2 separate regions of the Homo sapiens genome follow, and region 1 is linked to region 2. Evidence: promoter capture Hi-C in human tissues and cell types (Jung and others, 2019). All regions are on one chromosome and are shown on one strand. The core of a region is centred on a gene start or on the middle of the fragment in contact, and the rest is flanking DNA. Distances in the headings are between cores, read along the strand shown.

What was found. Contacts are between HindIII fragments. The study calls those that stand out against the background at their distance.
Region 1: the fragment with the promoter of SH3PXD2B here is called in contact with the fragment with the promoter of FGF18 in region 2 in 1 of the 25 tissues and cell types used here (IMR-90 fibroblasts).

What each region holds. Positions count from the first base shown.
Region 1 is chr5:172,452,574-172,460,314 of GRCh38, forward strand. SH3PXD2B (SH3 and PX domains 2B) reads right to left here and starts at 1,952. Exons shown (of 13, transcript NM_001017995.3): 1 at 1,705-1,952. The coding sequence starts at 1,779. RefSeq lists an enhancer at 918-1,439. The HindIII fragment of the contact is 19,152 bases long and covers 1-7,741 here.
Region 2 is chr5:171,415,108-171,422,805 of GRCh38, forward strand. FGF18 (fibroblast growth factor 18) reads left to right here and starts at 4,540. Exons shown (of 5, transcript NM_003862.3): 1 at 4,540-5,124; 2 at 5,300-5,336. The coding sequence starts at 5,093. RefSeq lists silencers at 4,377-4,486, 4,607-4,716, 4,857-4,906, 4,967-5,046. The HindIII fragment of the contact is 5,522 bases long and covers 2,258-7,698 here.

The DNA.
Region 1 (7,741 bases), core at 702-3,201, 1.0 Mb after region 2:
AAATGGGCTTAAGGCCCTCTGCCTGATATGGGCGTGATAGGAGAGGCCAGAAGAGGGCGCGTGGACGATGATGGCCGGGCCTCGGTGGCAGTATCTATTCTCGTTTTTGCCAGCTCACAGACCTGGTGGGAGGTGGCATGGAGAATTCCAGACTTCCTCCAGTTGCCATGTTGGTGAAAACTGTCTTCATGCCAAAGAGGCAAACTCACTTACACGCTAACAGGCTCAAACAAGAAACTAAGATTTGGCAGCATTTGAAAACAGTTAACAAAAAATAAAAAAAGGAAGGAAAAAAAAAAGACAATTTAGCTCAGCTCTGGAATCAAGGGAAACTTCACTCTATATAAAGATGCCACAGGTCCAGGAAATAGCTTCCCACCGCCTGGCTAAGGGCTGAATAACTGGCTGCCCAGCCAATAACAATACAGACTCACACAGCACACCCTTTCTTGTGGAGAGCGCGGAGTGGGTTCCCGGCTATCTCCTTTCAGAATTTCACAGGCTATTCACGGAAGGCATGCAGATCTACTTTGTAAGAATTAGTTCTTAAAAAAAAAAGATCTGAAGACGACTTCCAGGGAGGCCAAGGAGCTTAATTTAGCCAGCCAACGCCCTTTTCTATTCATTGTTCTATACTTCTTTGTTAGGATTTTTTCCCTCCCTCTTACTCTTTTTCCCTTCCTGGTTAACTTCTCTGCAGCCAGGCTCCGCCACTGCCCACTTCTCACCGCCAGAGACACTATAGCCCCCTTCCCTGCTGTAATGAGGCCCTCCCCAAGGCCTCATGTGGGCCCATCACCCCACATCCCCTTTATCTCCACCTAGAACCTGCGAGGTGGTCCCAGGGCCTCCTGAATCTGCAGACGTGTCCCCTAGGTTGCTGCGGAAGCCACTTTCCACCTGCAGGTCACCGTCAGCCCCAGGCACCCCTGCTGGAGGGAGGGAAGCCCGAATGCAGCTCTATGTTCCAGGACCTGCAACCTCTGAGCCTCAGCCTTCCTATCTGCAAAACGACGCTACTGTCCCATTTTCTCAAGTCCTTGCCAGCTCCAAACAAGATTCCCATGTTCCAGAGGGAGATGCCAGGAGAAAACTTTCGTACATTTTAAAACAGAAGTTACTGGAGAGAGGGGGCAGGGGATGTTTTTAACCCTTTAAAGGCGTAGCCACTCAAATGATCCATTCCCAGAGATCTCCTCCATCGCCCAGGCCGGCTCTTGCCAAAGAACGGAGTCAAATTCGGCGAACCCTAGAGGGGCTACCTGTGGCTGGGGACTGCGGGTCTGCGCGCCTCTGGACAAGGAGGGGCAAGGCGGGCGGCCTGAGAACAGGCACTTCTGTCTCTCCCGCTTTCTGTCTCAGACCCCTCACCGGCTGGAGCCAGACTTTTCCACAGATGAGCAGGACGGGAGTTGGGGGGACACGGAGAAGACAGAAAGGGGTAGAGGAGCCGCAGGGAGGCGAGTAGGGGGGCGAGGCGGGAGGAAGGGATGGAGGGGGAGAACGAGGCAAAAGCGGGGAGGGGAGGGGAGGGAGGGAGGAGGAGTCGGGAGGGACCCGGGCAGCGCCGCCGCAGAGCCGAGGGGAGAGCAGGGGAGGAGGGGACGGGAAGCGCTGGAGGCAGAAGTTTTCCAAGCCGGGGGCCCTCGGTCGCCCCCGACGGGGCGCGGGCTCAAGGGGGCGTGGGGGCCGCGCCGCACTCACATAATGCTTGTTGGGCACCCGCCGCTTCTGCACGTCTAGCACCTTCACCTCCACGATGCTGCGCCGCGGCGGCATGGCCGCTCCTCCGCCCGCAGCGGGCCGAGCGCGGGTGCGGGTGGCGCGGGGTGCAGGGAGCGCTGGGGGCGCGCCGCCGCGGGCAGGGAACCTGGAGCTGAGCGCAATCGCAGCCGGGGCCGAGCACGAGCCGCCGCCGCCACCGCCGCCGCCCTTCGCTCGGCGCGCACTCCAGCCGGGCCCAGCCGCCGCCGCCCGCCCCCGGCCCGCCCCCCGCACCGCCCCCCGCACCGCCCCCCGCACCGCCCCCCGCGCCGCCGGCCCGCCCCCCTTAAAGGGCCCGGCCCCGACCCCCGCCCACCGCGCGCGAACCCCGCCGGCCACGTCCGGCCCCCGCCCGGCCTTTGTCCCGGTGCTGAGCCGCCGCGCCGGGGGAGGGGACTGGACTGACCCCGTCGCCCGTTCACTGATTGACGTATCGATTCATTCCAGCACTCTCGCTCCGGCAGCCGCCATCCACCGCCAGTTTGGAGAGCCGGACACCCGGGTTCGAATCCCGGCTTTGCCGCTTTTCCACTCTGTGCCCTCGGCAAGTTGCTTAACCTCTCTGGGTTGGGTCTCTTCGTCTATAATATGAGCCTAGTAGTACAAGCACCATGTTTGTCTTTTTGTGTCTGGCTTATTTCACTCGGCATAATGTCCTCAAGGCTCATCCATGTTGTAGCACGTGTCAGTAGTACCGCCTGCCTGCCGGTGCTGCGCCCGGGATTAAGTGCATGTGAAGCCATTCCGCAGTGCAGTCCATGGTATGAGTGCTGGCGTTCCTAAAGCCACCCCAAGCCCTGGTGATTCAGGAGGAGCAAGAGACCCGTGACCAGGTTCCCCCAGCCTCAGTCTGGGACATGGGGAGTGAGGGAGAGAAAAACTGCAACAAATGCGCATACGTGCAATGTAATTGCCATGGAAGCAACAAAAGGGGATAAAAGGGTGGTGACTATGTGTGAGGGGCAGCTGGGTGCTTGTTAGCAAGGCCATCGATTTCCAGTTGCGGAGCACTTAACTGCTCGCTGGGCCCCGTGGCCCCTGCTTTTCACAAATGCTGTCTTTGCATCCTCAGGCAGACTCTAGGAGGAAAAGGTGTTTTTACAGAGGACGGCCTCCAGACATTTGGACATTTCCAATGAGGCCTGAGGACCCTCTGACTTGGGAACTGTACTTCAGAAGAATGTGCCTTACAGGAATTACATCAGTGAAGGTCCAGAGTCAGGGAGCCGGTGGATGGAGCCCGTCACTGCCTGGCTCTAGGTGGATCTCACACGTTGAAGCTGCCGTGGCTGGGGCAGCTCCTCGTTTCTTCATCTAGTGCCTCCTAGCACTGGCTGGGCACTGAGTCACTTTCAGGAGATGTTGGCTGAATGAATGGATAAATGAATATATAATGCATGGATGGGAGGTTTAGGCTCCTGGCCAGTGTTTTCACAGCCAGTAAGTGGGGGCTCTTTTCAACAAACCGTACGACTCTTCTCCATGCCACGACAGAGCTACTTCCCACCCCGGTCCAGGATCAGCCTTTGGAAAAGGGTGGGCTTATCCAGGGTAGGACGGCTCTCAGCCTCGGCCAGGCCACGTGGATGATTTGGGCTGATTCACTTTGGATCCGCCCCTCCATTTGCTCCTCTGACTTCCTTGCCAGACTTTACCATCCTGCTCCAGCCCCAGAGGCTGGCCTGTGTGGATTTCACTGACAGCTCTCTGTCCTGGTCTTCCTGTTTGGCTTGGCCAGTGGAAGGGCCTGGCAGGAGATTGAGGGCAAGAGGAGAGAGGGAGGTCTGGGTATTTAATCCCTAAGCCCCTCCTCCCCGATTGTTTTTACCAAAGGTGCCCTTTCTCACATGGTCTCTCTCAGGGTTCCTGAAGCCACTTTTCTGCTCAGGACAGTGACAGTCTTGCTGTTGCAAGCCCTGGGTACTACGCCATCCTCGGTGCTTCCTTAGCCCCGCCCACACCCGTATACATTGACCCTTTACTAAACTGTCTTCATGGACCCAGCTTGAGGGTGGCATCTGTTCGGTGCCAGGACCCTCACTCATGTAATTCCTGTAAGGCACATTCTTCTGAAGTACAGTCCCAAGCCAGAGGGTCCTGAGGCCTCATTGGAAATGTCCAAAGAAGTGAAGGTCTGCTTTTCCGTCCCTGCCACATCGTGCATTGCCTTATTAGGAGCCAAGCCTTCCTAAGAAGGCAGAAGCTAGAGGCCCTCTCTGAATCAGCCAGCTTCCTGGGTTTTTCCGGAGAGGCAGAGAGACCTGCCCCCAGCCACACCATGGGTGGCAGAGGTGGGTCCTGCTGGCTGTGTCCGTCTCCTCTGTCTGGGGAAGACAAAGGTCCCCCCACAACCACCAGTAGCAGAAGATGCTATCCCTGCATCTTTACGTATCTTTCCTTTGTTTTACTTTTTTATTGTAGTAAAAAATACATAACATAAAATTTAACATTTCAACCATGTTTAAAGCATACAGTTGAGTGGCATTAAGTACACTCACATTGTTGTGCAACTGTCACCACCATCCCTCTCCAGAACTTTCTCATCTTCCTAAACTGGAGCTCTGTCCCTATTAAACACTGAGTCCCCCCCCACTGCCCCCCAACCTCCTCCAGGCCTTGGCAACCATTGTTCTACTTTCCATCTCTATGAGTTTGACTATGCTAGGTACTTCATATGAGTGGAAACACACAATGTTTGTCTTTTTGTGTCTGGCTTATTTCACTCGGCATAATGTCCTCAAAGCTCATCCATGTTGTAGCATGTGTCAGAATTTCCTTTTTATGGCTGAATAATATTCCATTATATGTATATAGCACTTTTTCTTTATCCATTCATCTGTCAACAGTCACTTGGGTTGTTTTCATCTTTTGGCTATTCTGAATAATGCTGCTGTGAACATTGGTATAAAAATATCTGTTCAAGTCCCTGGTTTCAATTCTTTTGTGCATATACCAAGAAATGGAATTGCTGGATCATGTGATACTTCTATGTTTAATTTTTTTTTGAGGAGCCCCTAAACTGTCTTCCACAGGGGCTGTGGCATTTCGCATTCCCTCAGCAATGCACAAAGGTTCCAATTTCTCTACATCCTTGCCAACACTTGTTATTATCTGTTTTGTTTGTTTGTTTTGTTTTGTTTTGTTTTGTTTGAGAAAGAGTCTTGCTCTGTCTCCCAGGCTGGAGTGCAGTGACGCAATCTCAGCTCACTGTAACCCCTGCCTCCTGGGTTCAAGCAGTTCTCCTGTCTCAGCCTCCCGAGTAGCTGGGACTATAGGCGCCCGCCATGCCTGGCTAATTTTTGTATTTTTAGTAGAGATGGGGTTTCACCCTATTGGTCAGGCTGGTCTCAAACTCCTGACCTCAGGTGATCCACCCCCCTCAACCTCCCAAAGTGCTGGGATTACAGGCATGAGCCACCGCCCCCGGCCTTGTTTTGTTTTTTAAGAGACAGGGTCTCATCCTGTCACCCAGGCTGGAGTGCAGTGATTTTGATCATGGCTTACTGCAGCCTTGATCTCCTGGGCTCAAGGGATCCTCTGCCTCCGCCTCCCTGGTAGCTGGGACTATAGGCACCCACCAGCACATCTGGCTATTTTTAAAATTTTCCTTTTGTAGAGACAGAATCTCACTATGTTGACCAGTCTGGTTTTGGACTTCTGGCCTCAAGTGATCTTCCTGCATTGGCCTCCCAAAGTGCTGGGATTACAGGCATGAGCCACTGTGTCTGGCCTGTTTTTATTTCTTTATTCGTTCATTTGTTTTTGATAATAACCATTCTAATGGATGTGAAATGGAATCTCATTGTGGTTTCGATTTGCATTCCTCTAATGATGAGTGATGTTCAGCATCTTTTCATGTGCTTGTTGGCCATTTGTTTATCTTCTTTGGAGAAGTGTCTATTCAAGTCCTTTGTGCATTTTAAAATTGTGTTATTGGTTTTTTTCTTCTTACCTTTCTATATCACCCATTTACCTCCTAGACAACTTGGGCTTTTCTGAGTGTCCACCATAGTTTTTGGAGAACTGAATTGTGGGCTGGTGATGCAGTTTAGGCTGGCTGTTCAGACTGGAAAGATCCATTTAGGCTCTGCTTGGGAGAACTGCAGATTATCTGCTGATAAAAATCTCAACCCAGATGGTCACTACAATTCACTGGAACTGGACTAGTTCCTTGTCACAAACACAAAACACTTCTGCAAATTCGAGTTCATCAGGGAGCCCAAACCTAAGGGAGAACTCGAATGGAAGAGAAATCCCACTTGGAATTCAAATAGGATTCCAAGTGGGATTTCTCTTCCATTCGAGTTCTCCCTTAGGTTTGGACAAGGATTCCTTTTAGACTCTATATAGTCTAAAAAGAGGAGGGACCCTTCGTTCCAGAAATCCCTGCCCCTTTCTTAGAAAACTCGTGAATAATCCACCCCTTGTTTAGCACGTGATCAAGAAATAACCATAAATATACTTAGACTCGAGCATCCCATGCCAGGGCTCTGCCTATGGGGTAGCCATTCTTTATTCCTTTACTATCTTAATCAACTTGCTTTCACTTTATTCTATGGACTTGCCCCAAATTATTTCTTGCATGAGGTCCAAGAACCCTCTCTTGAGGTTTTAATCGAGACCTTTTCCGGTAACATCACCGACATGCCTTGGCATAAGCTGCTCATTTCCCCACCTTGTCTGCTGGTGAACTCTCATTCAGCCTTCAAAGTCCATACTGAATGTCACTAATATCACTTCCTGTAGGAAGCCCTGACTCCCAGATGGGTAATTGTCTCCCCCCCACCCAGCTGCCACTGTGCCTTGTCCCAGCTGTCATTCTGGGCTGTGATTGTTTTCTTAATATCCAACTCCTTTGCCAGACTCCAAGCTCCCAAGGAGCCGGAATGGCCTTATTTGTCTCAAGTTTCCCACCTTTGGCACAGAATTAGCAAAGAGAGGCCCCAAAGAGATGCTGTGGGCTGAATGAACTCATCTCTATCTCATGAACTCTAACCTAAGTCCTCAGGGACATTAATTGAACCTCCAGGGCCAGGCTTGCTGTTGCCCCTGCCCATTCCCCAGACCTCTTCACGCCATTTCCCTGTTTCACACTGTTCTGGGAGCACTGACACTTCCCCTGATTGAGGTGTGGAGTGTAGAAGGTGGAAAAGGAGGTAAATATTCCACCTTAGCTGACTTCATTCCTCTAAATTTCTGTTCTAGAAGTGCATTTTGCAGGCTCGAGAGCTGTAGACCATAGAAAATCAATGCTGGAGCCAACGGACCGCAGAATTCCACATGGCAGGTTTATTTGTGATCAGGACCACATGTTCAAGGGGCATTGAGTCCATCGACCTGAATCAGCTTCTGCTCTTTTCATGATTTCGGCGTCTGCCTGGCTGGCAGGCTGCACTTCTCCCAAATCCCAAGTCCCCAGGACAGATAGCCAGACCCAGGGAGCTGAGGTCTGCTCCTTCTTTTCCTTTCTCCATCCACAGTCTCTGGGAAGAAGCTGGGCTTGGAAAGAGATTCCCTCCGTGACTGCTGTCTGATTGGCTGGCATTGCGGGGTGGTCATAACTAATGTGGCCACGCTTTCTAATGCTCAGTGGCCCGGCACACGTGGTCCTGAGAAACAGACCACAGGCTATAAGAAAGCAGGCCTTATGGCAAAATTCCAGGTGCCCAGGTTGCAGGGCAGAGCCTTGTGGGTGGGGAGGAGGTTGAGTGATGTGATAGCTCAGGGACAGGGAGAAAGAGACCTCAGCCTCCTTCATTCCATCTTCTCTCTCTTTCCTGGCTGCCAATTGTATCTTCCTAAAGGGAAGCTCTGTGGATCCTCCCCTGCTCAGAAACTCTCACTTTGCTCCTACCACTCACACGTGTTCATGAGCTTTAGGTTGGCATTCAAGGTTTCCATGACCTTGTTCCTTCAGTACTCCCGTCATGTGTACCTACTTTGTGTTTATAAATTGTGCATCTTGGCCGGGCGTGGT
Region 2 (7,698 bases), core at 3,290-5,789:
CTTGGCTCACTGCAACCTCCACCTCCCGGGTTCCAGCGATTCTCCCACCTCAGCCTCCCGAGTAGCTGGGACTACAGGCGCATGCCACCACACTCGGCTAATTTTTGTATTTTTTATAGAGATAGGGTTTCACCATATTGGCCAGGCTGGTCTCAAACTCCTGACGTCAAGTGATCCATTCACCTCAGCTTCCCAAAGGGCTGGGATTACAGGCATGAGCCACCATGACCCGCTGTGTAGCTCTTGGCAGTACTAGCTTAATGAGCAAGGAGAGATGAGCATTGTATAGGGCGTGGGTCTTTTCTTGGAAATTGTCCAAAAAAAAAAAAAAGTTGAGAGTTAACAAGTATATACTGAGCCTATTAAAGGTGGCCTGGACTCTGGAAATACAGGGTTAAAGTTATTTGAGAAAGTCTGAGGCTACTTTCCAGCCAGTTCCTTAATGAAAAGCCAGTTACTCCCTGACTCATGGACTTGGCAGTAGAGGTCCCAAGTTTTAATGCTGTGCGCCTTCTAGGAGCTGGCTTTGAGAAAGCTTAGAGCCTCATTTGTGCTAAGGGTCTACTTTTCTTATTACCTGATAGTGCTGCTTGAGGCTGTTTGTCCTTTTTTTTTTTTTTTTTTTGAGACAGTCTCACTCTGTCCCCTAGGCTGGAGTGCAGTGGCATGATCTCGGCTCAGTGCAACCTCTGCCTCCCGGGTTCAAGCGATTCGCCTGTCTCAGCCTCCTGAGTAGCTGGGATTACAGACACGTGCCACCACACCTGACTAATTTTTGTATTTTTAGTAGAGACAGGGTTTCATTGTGTTGGTTAGGCTTGTCTCGAACTCCTGACCTCGTGATCCGCCCACCTCGGCCTCCCGAAGTGCCGGGATTACAGACTTGAGCCACCGCGCCTGTCCTGTCCTGTGTTCTTAGGCTGGATGTTTTCCATCTTTGTCTCCACAATATTTGTATTCCACAGATTCCCTGAATCTTAGGAGTCTTCTCAGTCAAGACTGGGAAGAAGTGGGAAACAAGTGGAAAGACTGCAGTACTCAGTTTACTTGCACACTTGAACAAAGGGATTTAAATATATACTCTGTTTCAGACGAAAGTTCTAGGTGCGTAGGGTTAGTAGGCAAGGCAGCGAGATGCTCTGCAGGGCTTACATTTCATTGTGTTACTTGTCAACATATATTCTTAACTCCCCTCAGAAAATTGCCTGAGTTTATTAGCTTAGAGCTGGGAATTTAATGCAGGTGTGTCTGATTCCGACCCCCAAAATAGCACATGGCTGCGTAGCCCAAGCTACGGTACCCTTACCTGGACTGGTAACAGCTAGCTTAGCATCCTCCTTACTCCAGCTACTAAGAATGAAGTGGAATGGTGTAACAGCATTCCACTTCATTCTTAGCCAGGGTAAAGCTTTTTTAACAAACTGAATTTTGACTGTTTCAAAGCCCTTAATTGACAAATTGTGGCATATCTATACTATTAAGTACTATCCCACGATGAAAATTGACTACTGCAAAATGCAACAATGGATCAATCTCAAACATGCTCAGCCAGACACAAGCACATAATAGGTGGTTCCATTTATGTGAAATCGAAAATAAACCAGTGCCAGATAAATGATTGCTTGGGACGAGCAATTGGGGGCCGGAAGATTGCCTGAGAAGAGGTGGTGTTTGTACCTAGATACATTTGTCAGAACTGAACTGTACACTTAAAACTGATGCATTGCAAAACTGGTACCCTTAAGCCATTGATGGCTACTTAATTTCCTGTGAAGGCCTGGTCAAGCACATTGCCTGTTTTCACCCTCATCTCTTGCCACACTCTCCCTGGCTAACCCTGCCAGTCGCCTAGCCTTTTTCCACTGGAGGCACTTTGCATCTTTTACCTGGAATATTCCTTTGCATGGCTATCTACTGTCTTTGGGTCTTGGCCTTAATGTTACCAAGAGGTCTTCTGGCTTCTCTATCCCACTGGTTTCTCTCAAAACACTGGTAACAAGCCAGCATTTATCTCTTGGTGTATTTGCTTATTGCCCATCTTCCCTAGTGGAAACGAAGTGCTTTTTTAGTGCAGGGACCTTGCCTGTCTTTCAGTGAGGGCTCGACACTGTAGGATCTCAATAAATTGTGATTGAATTAGTAAGAAGTGACTACTAAAATAGTGGTATATATTAAGTGTTGTATGAACATGCCAAATCCAGATAGAACCCATTTAAGATTCAGGCATATGGTAAATAGGTCATGTTGGTAAATAGGTGCATGAAACTAGAGGGTGTGAGTGGTGGGGAAAAGAATGTGTAGTATAAAATGGATTTGGAGTCAAAAGACATTCTGACTAGATGCCTCTTCAACTGTAAATTGGAAATGATCCTGCCTCCCTACTTCATGAAATTGTTCAGAAAGAAATGTGAAAATAACCTGAAAGTAACCTGAATAATAATTAGGATTATTAGTTAGCAGCTAAAACGTTTGGAGTTTTCATTGTGTGCCAGACACTCATTGAGTACTCACAACTCTGTGAGAGTTGTTACTGTTCTTAGCCATATTTTGTAGAGGAGGAAGCAGAATCTCAAACCGTTGCTTGCTGGAATTTATAAGTAAATGTTGGTGGCAGTATTCAAATGCAGTACTTCTGACTCCTGAGTTTATGCTCTTACTCAGAACTGTTCTCTTGGCTGGACTTTTTGGTCAGTCTGATTTGTTTGGTAGGTGAGATTGGCAAATATACTTTGAGCATTGAAAAATACTGCAAGCATTTTAGATAGGGTATAAATAATTATATACCCATTCCATTCACAAGTAATAAAAAATAGTAACAATATAGAAAATTGGAAGCATGATTCTTAGCCAGGAGATACTTCAAACTAGCAGATGGTAAGCCAAAAACTCCTCGACTGGGTTTGTCAATCTTCCTATAAAGCAAGATCAAAGACGGCGGCAATGACTCGGGTCATCGGTGGGAGCATTTCTGTCCATTTCTATTTATGGTTGGTCATTGCATCCTATCTTGGGATCGATTCATTTTCTCCAGAACTTGGGAAGTTACGAGTAACTCTGCAAGTCCAGCTCTGGCAATCAGAATGTCTAAGTAAATTCAGCTTAAAAGCTTCATGCAGGAATTTTCCCCCTCAGCACCTGGTTTTGAAAAGGTTTTCTGCACTTGTGTCCGATGTTGAAACAGAGGCTATCTGTTTAAAATAGCCTCAGCTTTGAAAGGGAACTTAAAATAGCTTGCAAGGAGGCCTGATATTTGGAACAATTACTAATGTTTTATAGTCATGGCTTCAGCAAATAGCACTGTTCGACAGTCCTACCTCAGTTTATGCTCCAGTGGACCATCAACCATTGCCAACGCAAGGAGGCTTTAACCAAATAGTCCAGATTCCTGAGTTTTGCTTGAGCCTGTCCTCCAGCGTCTTTCTCACTGTGACCTATTTTCCTTAGCATCAGGCTCAAGCAGAGCTTGGCTGACACCAGCTCTAGACAGTGAGGCAGGTACGTGACAAGAACACCTACGTTTTGGGGTTGGTGGGAAGGACAGGAGTTATGCCTCTGGAAGGGGCAGAGGCGGTAAGAACCAGTGTCCTGAATGGGGCCCTGGTTAAAGGAACGAAGCTGCCTAGTATGCAAACGGAGGCAAGTCTTAGTCCGGTTTTGGGAGGAGGCCGGAAGAGGGCCTCAGCGTGGTCGCTGACCAGAGTCCTGCTGGCTGCTCCCCGGCGTGCAGCCGTCCGTGCTGGGGTTGCAGTGACGTCTCGGGGCCGCTTGGTGGTAGCCGTGTGTTTCCAAAGCTGGCTCGCCTACGGGAGAGTCCAGCTGGGATCCCGTGAACCGACCCCAGAGCCCCGGAGGGGGCGAGGGGTGGGAAGGAGAGATGCCCGGGAGCCCCCTTCGCAGCGGCAGGGACGTAAGAAGAGGACGGGGGCTCACTTAAGTGGGTAGCCAGTCAAGAGGGTGGCTGGGAAACTCCACGATCGCAGGGCGGGTAAAAGCGACCCCCATTCAGTGGAGCCGCCCCGGGGCTGGGTTTGACCCGCCCCTCTCGGCTCTCCACTAGAGCGCTGGTGAGTGAGTGCGAGTAGCGAATGTGGGCAGGTGAGGACGTTCCGTACCTAACTGCGTTCTTGGGGAGCATCGCCTGCCCAATTTGGGCAACGTTTGCGCGGAGGAGCGGTCACTGCGCTCGGGCGCAGAGCTCCGACGGCTTCCAGCGCTCACCAGCTTCAGTCTCGCGGGTCCTGCCCCTTTGGAGCTGCCGGTCCCGTCTCCGAGAGTCTGAGCGCCTCCCCTCCAACCCCGAGCCGCCAGGAGAAGGAGGAGGAGGCAGCGAGAGGCCGCGGCAGGCAGGCGAGCAGGCAGGGCCGCCTTTGATGTGGGCTGGGCGCACCCAGGCGAGCTGAGCGCCCGTCCGGCCGCGCCCCGAGGGGGGAGCCCCCAGGCCCCGCATCCTCATTGTGCCGGCTCGGGCCCGGGCCCGCCCCCGGCCCCCCGCCCCCTCGCCGCCCGCGCGTAGAAAACGCCCCGGCCGCCGCCAGTGGTGGGAGGCGGCGATGCGCACGGCCGGAGAGACGCGGAGGAGGAGACATGAGCCGGCGGGCGCCCAGACGGAGCGGCCGTGACGCTTTCGCGCTGCAGCCGCGCGCCCCGACCCCGGAGCGCTGACCCCTGGCCCCACGCAGCTCCGCGCCCGGGCCGGAGAGCGCAACTCGGCTTCCAGACCCGCCGCGCATGCTGTCCCCGGACTGAGCCGGGCAGCCAGCCTCCCACGGACGCCCGGACGGCCGGCCGGCCAGCAGTGAGCGAGCTTCCCCGCACCGGCCAGGCGCCTCCTGCACAGCGGCTGCCGCCCCGCAGCCCCTGCGCCAGCCCGGAGGGCGCAGCGCTCGGGAGGAGCCGCGCGGGGCGCTGATGCCGCAGGGCGCGCCGCGGAGCGCCCCGGAGCAGCAGAGTCTGCAGCAGCAGCAGCCGGCGAGGAGGGAGCAGCAGCAGCGGCGGCGGCGGCGGCGGCGGCGGCGGAGGCGCCCGGTCCCGGCCGCGCGGAGCGGACATGTGCAGGCTGGGCTAGGAGCCGCCGCCTCCCTCCCGCCCAGCGATGTATTCAGCGCCCTCCGCCTGCACTTGCCTGTAAGCGCCCGCGCGCGGGGCTGCCCACCTTGCCTGGCTGTCTGTCCGTATGCCTGTGCCCTGTACCTCTGTCTGCCCGCCCGTCGGTTCACCTGACTCTTCGACTGCGTGTCTGTCTGTCCGTGCGCCCCCTTCCTCAGGTCCCACTGACCGCTTCTCCATCTGTTTCCCGCAGGTGTTTACACTTCCTGCTGCTGTGCTTCCAGGTACAGGTACGTGGGCTCCTGACTTTGACCTCCTCCCGCCCCTGCCTCGCGGTACACGCCGACCCCCCTTCCCCGGCCGCGCCCCCTCCCTGTGCCCCACCCCTCCTGGGCGCTGAGCCCAGTGCACCTGTTCCCAGGGCGCGGAAGGGCGGCTCCGCGTGCGCCCTGCGCCGGCGGGGAACCGGCCAAGGGCAAGGGGCTCTGCCGCGGGGCCCGAGGAGGCGCTGGCTGTCGCGGCCACTGTCGGCCTCGGCTGGGAGGAGATCCCGCAGAGCCGGCGGGCTCAGCCGCAACAATATACCCAGCTCTAAGACCCCTGCCCGCAGCCAGCGAGGGGTAGGACCTAGGGATTTTCTCTGCCAACCTTCCCTTAACATCGCCGCTTCCAAACAAAAAGACTTTCAGCCGAGTGGATTTCGAGTCCAGGGAGAAAGCTTCAGTTGTAAATTACTCTGTGGTTTTGAAGGCGCTTGCAGCACTGAGACACACACACAGACACACACACATGCCCGGGACGAGGGGAAGCTCGAGGGCGCCTAGGCCGAGTGGCCGCTGCCCGCGAGGCCGCTCCCGGATGGGCCGCGCTCCGCACTCCCTCGCCTAAGGTGGTGCAGCCCTCGTTGGTTCCCCGCCTGCTCCCGGTTCGCTCGCTCTCCGTGAATCAGAAGAGGGCTTGGCGCTCGGCCTGGAAAGCACTTGCTAAAATCTGATCTGTTACTTCAGCAGCTTTCAGACTCGGGAAGGTCTTGGCACGCAGACAGTTGGAACGCTCTGGCTTCCAAAGCCGTAGAAATGAAGGAAAAAGGGTTGGGGGGAGGGAGAGAGAAGAGCGAAAAAGGGAGCCGACTTCAGCCCCGATTAGAACCAGACCAGGGCTGCCTCTGCATGGTGGGGGTCGGGGGGCGGCGGGCAAAGGGAATAGGAAGCGTCAGCTCCCCAAGCCCCCACCCACCTAGTGCTGCAAGGGGCCAGGCCAGGAGGAACTGGACACAGGTCAAAAGAGGGTTGTCTGACCCTTCCCCCTCGGTGGAAGGCAGGTGGCTTTCCGGGATTAGAGAAGATTCTTAGACCTTAGCCTTCTGGATTGTGGAGATCCCCAGAGCTAGCCTTGAGCACAGGAAATTGGTGGTTCTCCCGGTTTTCTGGCTCAAGGAGTGTTGTGTGCCTTGAGCACTGCGCGACTCAACAGCCACTCGCAGTGTTTGGCGGTGGTGGGCCTGCTATCTTCCTTCCACGCCCAGGAGAGGGTTGTTACCCTCCTGATAGGCACTGAGCTGGGGGCATCCATTGGGGCTTGGGGATGGAAGGGTGGACGGACTGATGGGTTCTTTCCTCCTGTTGGCCAGGCTGGGGTCCCCAGTGACTCCTTGAATCAATATAACTGGAGTCAGTAACTTAAGACTGGCTGTTTGCCAAAGCAGATGTGACCTGTGTGGTGATGGGGGTGGGGGTGGGGAACGGCTGGTGTCAAAGAGGGAGGCCAGTGCCAGGCATGGCCTGCCTGGTCTGCAGCTGAGTCCCCAAGCAGAGGGCAGGCCCTGGGGTCACTCCAGGGGGTCTGCTTGTCTGACCTGGGCAAGAGCTCTTTTCCAGAGTGCTGTGCCTGGGGGCAGGAGGGATGAAATGGGCAAGGAGTAGCAGGGAGGCCTGCGGATGTGTGGCTCAAGCCTCTGGATGCCTGCTGCTGTTGGTTCTTCTTGAAGTAGGGCCCAGGAGGGGCTGCTGTGTGGTCTTTGTGTTCTCCGTGGGAGCTGGAGGGAGGGAGTGTGGACTCTGCATCCCACCTCCACCTCCTGGCCAGAGCTAGAGCCAGCATCTTGGGAAAGAGCTGGGTGGTCTGCCCTGGTTAGGTCAAGAGGCAGCCTTCAAGCAGGTGAGGGATCCTCCTCTCCCCACCACCTCCACCTTCCCCCTTGTCCCCACCGGCCTTTCTGCATCCAAAGTGCCATAAGACTGATGTTTTTAACCCATGGTCCATGTACCCTTGGAGTGTCAAAGGATGGGATTGTGGGAGGGGGAGGTCCCTGAAACACTGCACAAAAATGGTGCTCAAATGTGCTGTGTCTGGAAGAGGGTTGCCTGCTCCCCACAGAGTTTCAAAACATCTATGACCCCTAAAGATAAAGAAATGTTATCCTGGGAGTTATGGGCAAGGTTGTCAGGCTTATGTCCCCATTCACACTACAGGGGCAAAGGTGGGGTGGCCTTAATGGTTGAAATGAGGGGTAGGAGCCAAATGATGTTAACTGCCAGGAATCTGGGGCCTGCTCCCTGCTGAGGTTTGGGTAGGCTGCACTTAGCGGGTAGCAGTTCAAGCTCCTTTAGGGTGAGCCGGGGCCAGGGAGGCCTCTCTACATGGCAGGAAGGG